2 separate regions of the Homo sapiens genome follow, and region 2 is linked to region 1. Evidence: promoter capture Hi-C in human tissues and cell types (Jung and others, 2019). All regions are on one chromosome and are shown on one strand. The core of a region is centred on a gene start or on the middle of the fragment in contact, and the rest is flanking DNA. Distances in the headings are between cores, read along the strand shown. Region 1 holds the start of WNT10B (Wnt family member 10B). Region 2 overlaps KMT2D (lysine methyltransferase 2D).

What was found. The method cuts DNA at HindIII sites, captures the fragments that hold promoters and counts their contacts. A contact is called where the count stands out against the background at its distance.
Region 2: a fragment that was not itself captured here is called in contact with the fragment with the promoter of WNT10B in region 1 in 4 of the 25 tissues and cell types used here (H1 embryonic stem cells, bladder, lymphoblastoid cells and 1 more).

The regions. Positions count from the first base shown.
Region 1 is chr12:48,968,913-48,973,907 of GRCh38, reverse strand. It overlaps WNT10B (Wnt family member 10B), which reads left to right and starts at 2,173. Exons shown (of 5, transcript NM_003394.4): 1 at 2,173-2,453; 2 at 3,339-3,452; 3 at 3,557-3,819. The coding sequence starts at 3,379. RefSeq lists silencers at 2,108-2,402, 3,870-3,949. The HindIII fragment of the contact is 13,431 bases long and covers 1-4,995 here.
Region 2 is chr12:49,040,024-49,042,523 of GRCh38, reverse strand. KMT2D (lysine methyltransferase 2D) reads left to right here. Exons shown (of 55, transcript NM_003482.4): 29 at 194-435; 30 at 534-607; 31 at 819-869; 32 at 989-2,500. Among named protein-coding and RNA genes, the nearest start is that of KMT2D, 20 kb to the left of the region's middle. The HindIII fragment of the contact is 6,740 bases long and covers 1-2,500 here.

The DNA.
Region 1 (4,995 bases), core at 924-3,423:
CCTCCACTCTTCTCATTGAGGGGAAGGGGAACCAGCTTGCTCCTAGTCCCTCCCTGCAGTGATGAAAGCCCCCCACTTTCCCCCTCCTGTCATTGGCCCTGACCCACGTCAAGGTCTCTCTGGTTCCCGTCCCTCCCCTTTCTTGGAGCTGGCCGCGTGCTTGGGGTATTAGGCAATGGGTGTGCACCCACAGCCCTCTCCAGGCCCCGCCTGTCCCACCGCCCTCTAGCCGCCTGCGGGTCAGTGCTCAGGCCAGCCGGTCGGGCTGAGGGCACTGCGGGCCAGCTCAGGCCACCCAGTCTGCCGGCCTGTGGCCTCTTGTCCCAGAGTTGGGCTTCAGTAGAGAGAAGGAGCAGGACTCTGGGTCCTTGGATTTGGAACAGTCCTGCTTGGGGAGACCTAGGGTCACCAGGAAGTTGAAACCTATTGTAGTAGTTCTGCCCCTCGCCCCTTCTTGGCACCTGGCTGTATGCTGGAGCCTGACAAGGGTAGAATCAGAAGGCAAAAAATAATCCCAAACCTAAGGGGGACCCAGAGACACATGGAGAAATACAAATGTCCATGAGGTCCCCATGGAGAAGAGAGGCTTAGGCAACCTCATTCCCCTCTTCCAAGGACCTGGCAGGAATCCCAGGGTGACTGCAAGAAAAAGGATAAGGACACTGGTGGGGATCATGAATCCAGGTGTAAGGATGAAAACTATGAGATGGGGCTTGCAGATTCTGGTGACCTCCAAAACCACACATGGTTTGGCTCTTGTCCTCTAAATGGGAAGGAGGGTCAGGAACTCTAGTGCTCCCACTTCCCCATCCCAGAGGTAGGGAATCAGAGAAAAGCAGTCTGGTCCAGGCTGTCCAGTGTCAGGGACCATGGCACTTTCACCTCCCCAGACTGCTCACAGCCTGGCACGTAAAGGTGATCTGTAAATATCCCAACAGATGTAAGTTTGCTCGATCTCCTGTCTCAGACTGCTGTGCCCGCTATCCAACAGTGACCCCTGCAGCACGGGCAGGACCTCCAGCAGCACAGACTGGAGGCTGGCTGCCCAGCAGAGCTGCAACGCCACCACCAAGGAAGAGGTGACTGTGGTTGTGGGTATCATCCCTGTTCCTCTGCTTGCTTGGGGGCAGTCTGAGTCAATGTGCCTGGGGCGCGTGGGGCCAGCCGTGCCTTGGGCTGCGGTCTGGCAGGGGCGGGGGGCGGCTGGAAAGCCTGGGGCCCCTCTCTGGCAAAAATAGCCCACAGTGGTTAGAGCTTCGAGGGTGAGTCAGGCGGGAGCACGGTGGCGCCTAACCCGTTCGCTGCCACTGGGTCTCCCTAAGGCGGTTTGCCTTTGCCTGTGCACCCCAAGACCAGGCTCTTTCCCGGCTGCCCTTGGGCTTGGCTCAATTTTGGATCCCAAGGCCCTCCTCATCCCATAAGAAGCAAGTCTACAGCTTGGAGCAGGAATCCAGGCCACCCAAAGTGCAGACCGGGGGAATCCCGAGAAGGGTAGGATACCTCTGTTGGCAAGCATCCCTGCCAGGCAAGGAAGCATCGGGGCAGGCTGACAATCTTTGGTGCTACTTGAACCTCTGCTAGGGCCAAACTCTGAGGCCAAAGCTGTCCCCTCCAAAGGGGCAGGCGCAGGGCTTGGAGGAGGGTGGGAACCAAGCTGCCCAGACGTGTGCTTCTCCTGCCCGCTCTGAGTACCCCGGGTGCGCTCAGGCTGTGGGTGCCACATGTGACTGTCCCACACCGAGAAGCCCAAAGACTGTCTGGCTCCATCCTCATCTTGTCAAAGGCACCTTCCAGCCACCCTGATCTTGGTGGAGAAACTGACGCAAAGAGGAGTGATGAAAGATGTGGCCATCTGGGCCCCATTCTGGCTCCCTAGGAAGGTTACTACACCCTCCCTGCAGCCTTGGCGACCCCAGATCAGGTGAGAGGAACTCTGGCCACCTCCTTCTTCAGTGGGGCCAAGCCTGAACCCAGGCGTCGGGGGAGAGGGTGTGTGAGAGAGAGAGAGTGTGTGTGTGTGTGTGTGTGTGTGTGTGTGTGTGTGCGCGCGCGCGCGCGCGCGCGCGCGCTGGGAGGAGGGGGAGGCTGCATTCGCCTGGTCAAGGCTGGGAGTGGAGGGTAGGGTGGGGAAGCCCCAGGCTCGGGGAGGGGCTGCAGCTCCGTCAGCCCGGCAGAGCCACCCTGAGCTCGGTGAGAGCAAAGCCAGAGCCCCCAGTCCTTTGCTCGCCGGCTTGCTAGCTCTCTCGATCACTCCCTCCCTTCCTCCCTCCCTTCCTCCCGGCGGCCGCGGCGGCGCTGGGGAAGCGGTGAAGAGGAGTGGCCCGGCCCTGGAAGAATGCGGCTCTGACAAGGGGACAGAACCCAGCGCAGTCTCCCCACGGTTTAAGCAGCACTAGTGAAGCCCAGGCAACCCAACCGTGCCTGTCTCGGACCCCGCACCCAAACCACTGGAGGTAATTAGACCTGGGAAAGCAGGGAGGGCAGGGACGTGCACACGAGGAAGAGACAGGCACGTGTGTAGTCAGACAGACAGACAGACACGCATCCACCCACAGAAGCACAGAGACGCATAGAGAGCCAGAGATATTGCTAGAGATAAAGACACAGAGAATAAAGGAGTGCCCCCAGATTTAGAATGCAATGAATGTGAGAGCCAAGGGGTGAGGACCAGACGGGCGACTATGGAGGAGGGGAGCTTGTAGTTAGGCAAGGTGGGGGATAGGGAAGAGGACTCAGTCTGTGCCACGGTCCCTTTTAGGAGGGAGCCAGGCTCTCCTCCCCATCTTTCCTGCACCTGGAGCCTCTCCTCTTTCCTTGCTGCTCAGGGAGGGGGCAGTGTGAGTGGGGAACTCATTCTTAGACCTTTCTCATGGAGCCTACTTGCCCTTGATGACACCTGGAGGTGACACCCCCTTAGGTGGTGGGGAACCTCCTCCCTATCCCTCTCCCTAGCCCTGTGAGGGCGGGGAAGCTAGTCGTGGGGCCCTGGAAAAGGGAGCAGTAGGCGAGGTTGTGGAGCAAGTGTTTGTGAGTCTGTGTGTCTGAGTTTGCAAGTGAGTGTGTGTCTGTGTGCCGGGCGTTGTGTCTGATTGGGCAAGGTTCCAGGGGTGCTCGCTTGAGTCCTGAGCTGGGACAACGCCTTGACTCTTCTTCTTTAAGACCTCCAAGCCTCAGGGACTCTGGGAATCAAGGGGTGTTTCTTCTTGTTTTGTTTGAGGAGGAATGAGAAGGGTCAGTAGGGTGGCACCGGTGGGTTAGGAGCCCGAAGAAGGGCGTCACTTGGTTCCCCAAGCGAGCCGCCCTATTCCTGAACCCGCATCAAGTCTCCCGTCCCGCAGGTCCTGATCGATCTGCCCACCGGAGCCTCCGGGCTTCGACATGCTGGAGGAGCCCCGGCCGCGGCCTCCGCCCTCGGGCCTCGCGGGTCTCCTGTTCCTGGCGTTGTGCAGTCGGTGAGCAGTTCCCCTTGTCTCCCAGGCCATAGAAACACCGACCCGGGGTGGGGAGAGTTGGAGGGGTCTGGACCGCAGACCCCAGACGCCTTCTTGGTTCCCAGGGCTCTAAGCAATGAGATTCTGGGCCTGAAGTTGCCTGGCGAGCCGCCGCTGACGGCCAACACCGTGTGCTTGACGCTGTCCGGCCTGAGCAAGCGGCAGCTAGGCCTGTGCCTGCGCAACCCCGACGTGACGGCGTCCGCGCTTCAGGGTCTGCACATCGCGGTCCACGAGTGTCAGCACCAGCTGCGCGACCAGCGCTGGAACTGCTCCGCGCTTGAGGGCGGCGGCCGCCTGCCGCACCACAGCGCCATCCTCAAGCGCGGTGAGCCTGGCTGGGCGGGTCGGCGCTGCCGCGGAGGCTAGGGGGTGGGCGGCAGGGCGAGGCGCGCGGAGGCGGGAAGGGATGGTTTCGCGGCTCCGGGAGGGGCCTCTCCTGGAATTCCCCGCCCCCCCCGGAGCCGCTCTGAGCCAGGTCTGGCCACTCGTCTGGGCCCCTGCGCGCCTAACTTCCACCTGCGTGCTGCCAGCGAGGCAGCTGGGTCCCTGCTCTCCTACCCTAGGGCCCCCCTTTCCTGCCTCCGCTCAGCTTAATCTGGGTTGCACCTGTGAACAAGAGATGCCCCCAGTCCTGGAAGCTTCAAACGCCCCCCTATTCCCTCCACCATTTTCTCTCCCCCCATCTTGGCTGGACAAGCCCAGGCTGGTGTCCCCAGTGTCTCAGCGGGGGTGGGGTGACGCCCCCAACCGTTTAAGGGTTAAATCTGCTCCCCTAATTGCTGGGGTTCCCAGGAGCCAAAGCTGGGAACAAAGACCCTGATGACTTTGAAGCTGGGGAGCCAGTCCCCTCCTCTGTGCTGTGGGGGCTCCAGGTGTTGCTCACCTGAGCAGGTGAAGAACGGCTGGAGAGGCAGAGAACAGGTCACTGCTGGCCTGGTCTGGGAGGCATGGCTGCCTCTCCTGGTTTCCCACTGGAGTTCACTCCCTGAGGTGTAAAGACCCATGGGGGCTCAGCCCAGAGATGGGGGCAGTGCTCTGGGGACTATGGGGTTAATAGGCAGCTGCCATCTGCAGGGGAATTCCCAAGACTTGTGCAAACAGCTTCACCCCTGGAGGGTTGGAGTTAGGGGGATCAGAAGGCTGGCCCAGGAGCCCTAGATCCTGGGGTAGCAGAGGCCTGGTCTCTAAGCGGGTGCTGTCTCTCGTCTTCTCAGGGCTCCGGAGAGCCCCTGCCTAAAATGAAGTGAGGGTCCCCCTCCTTCCCCACAGGGCCTGGTGTAGGGGAAGGCTTGGACACCCAAATGGTGAGCATGTTTATTTAAGTCTGGGAAAGGCTTGGCAGCCTGAGCTTCTGTGACCCCCAAAACATAACAAAGAAGCCAACCTTTTAAGAGGGCCTTAGGGAAAATCACTCCCCAACCTCTCTCCTCCTCTCAGTGTTTTATAGGGTAATAGCAGGTTAGGATAAACATAAAAAGGGCAGTCTTGAAGGGCAAATATA
Region 2 (2,500 bases), core at 1-2,500, 70 kb before region 1:
TTGTCCTTTCCCTCCATCTGAGTTCATGCTTTGCCTCCCTCGGACTCCTGCAGCACTTCCCCTGCTCCTCCCCATTCCCTTGTTAGTGACCCTCCTCTTTTGGGGCAGGGCAGTGGCCTGGGGCTCTAGGCAGTTTGTCTGGGGTGGGACTTGGCATCCCTGCGCCCTGTGACTCTCTGCCCCTGCGCCCCAGGGAGCGCGGGGGCTTCTTTAGCCCGGAACCCGGTGAGCCCGACAGCCCCTGGACGGGCTCAGGTGGCACCACGCCCTCCACCCCCACAACCCCCACCACGGAGGGTGAGGGCGACGGACTCTCCTATAACCAGCGGAGTCTTCAGCGCTGGGAGAAGGATGAGGAGTTGGGCCAGCTGTCCACCATCTCACCTGTGCTCTATGCCAACATTAATTTTCCTAATCTCAAGCAAGACTACCCAGGTACCTGTGGGATGAGGGCAAGGGAGACAGCCTGGCAACATGGCAGGTGGAGGAGTCGCCTGCCAAGTCTTCTCTGACTCACTCTCTCTGCCCTCCAGACTGGTCAAGCCGTTGCAAACAAATCATGAAGCTCTGGAGAAAGGTTCCAGCAGCTGACAAAGCCCCCTACCTGGTGAGGCAGAAAGGAGCATGGATTAGCGTGGGAACTGAGAGGGAGGGAGGGATCTTTGGGTAATTTACCTCAGTTCTTTCCGCTCCCCACTCCTAAAGCAGCTGGGCCAGAAGGGATCTGCTTCTGGGTAGGGAGTGTGAAAACACTACAGTATGGGGGCGGGGCATGAGACCAAGCACTAGGCCCTAAGGCTGTGTCCCATATCCCTCAGCAAAAGGCCAAAGATAACCGGGCAGCTCACCGCATCAACAAGGTGCAGAAGGTGAGTGGGGCTGGGCTGGGGTGTAGCAGTCCTCTAGTGGGTGGCCTCTCTTGAGGGTGGAGGGCCATGGGGCCTGCCTGCAGCAGCCTGACTGCCCTATGCCTGGTCTCCCCCTGTAGCAGGCTGAGAGCCAGATCAACAAGCAGACCAAGGTGGGCGACATAGCCCGTAAGACTGACCGACCGGCCCTACATCTCCGCATTCCCCCGCAGCCAGGGGCACTGGGCAGCCCGCCCCCCGCTGCTGCCCCCACCATTTTCATTGGCAGCCCCACTACCCCCGCCGGCTTGTCTACCTCTGCGGACGGGTTCCTGAAGCCGCCGGCGGGCTCGGTGCCTGGCCCTGACTCGCCTGGTGAGCTCTTCCTCAAGCTCCCACCCCAGGTGCCCGCCCAAGTGCCTTCGCAGGACCCCTTTGGACTGGCCCCTGCCTATCCCCTGGAGCCCCGCTTCCCCACGGCACCGCCCACCTATCCCCCCTATCCTAGTCCTACGGGGGCCCCTGCGCAGCCCCCGATGCTGGGCGCCTCATCTCGTCCTGGGGCTGGCCAGCCAGGGGAATTCCACACTACCCCACCTGGCACCCCCAGACACCAGCCCTCCACACCTGACCCATTCCTCAAACCCCGCTGCCCCTCGCTGGATAACTTGGCTGTGCCTGAGAGCCCTGGGGTAGGGGGAGGCAAAGCTTCCGAGCCCCTGCTCTCGCCCCCACCTTTTGGGGAGTCCCGGAAGGCCCTAGAGGTGAAGAAGGAAGAGCTTGGGGCATCCTCTCCTAGCTATGGGCCCCCAAACCTGGGCTTTGTTGACTCACCCTCCTCAGGCACCCACCTGGGTGGCCTGGAGTTAAAGACACCTGATGTCTTCAAAGCCCCCCTGACCCCTCGGGCATCTCAGGTAGAGCCCCAGAGCCCGGGCTTGGGCCTAAGGCCCCAGGAGCCACCCCCTGCCCAGGCTTTGGCACCTTCTCCTCCAAGTCACCCAGACATCTTTCGCCCTGGCTCCTACACTGACCCATATGCTCAGCCCCCATTGACTCCTCGGCCCCAACCTCCGCCCCCTGAGAGCTGCTGTGCTCTGCCCCCTCGCTCACTGCCCTCCGACCCTTTCTCCCGAGTGCCTGCCAGTCCTCAGTCCCAGTCCAGCTCCCAGTCTCCACTGACACCCCGGCCTCTGTCTGCTGAAGCTTTTTGCCCATCACCCGTTACCCCTCGCTTCCAGTCCCCTGACCCTTATTCTCGCCCACCCTCACGCCCTCAGTCCCGTGACCCATTTGCCCCATTGCATAAGCCACCCCGACCCCAGCCCCCTGAAGTTGCCTTTAAGGCTGGGTCTCTAGCCCACACTTCGCTGGGGGCTGGGGGGTTCCCAGCAGCCCTGCCCGCGGGGCCAGCAGGTGAGCTCCATGCCAAGGTCCCAAGTGGGCAGCCCCCCAATTTTGTCCGGTCCCCTGGGACGGGTGCATTTGTGGGCACCCCCTCTCCCATGCGTTTCACTTTCCCTCAGGCAGTAGGGGAGCCTTCCCTAAAGCCCCCTGTCCCTCAGCCTGGTCTCCCGCCACCCCATGGGATCAACAGCCATTTTGGGCCCGGCCCCACCTTGGGCAAGCCTCAAAGCACAAACTACACAGTA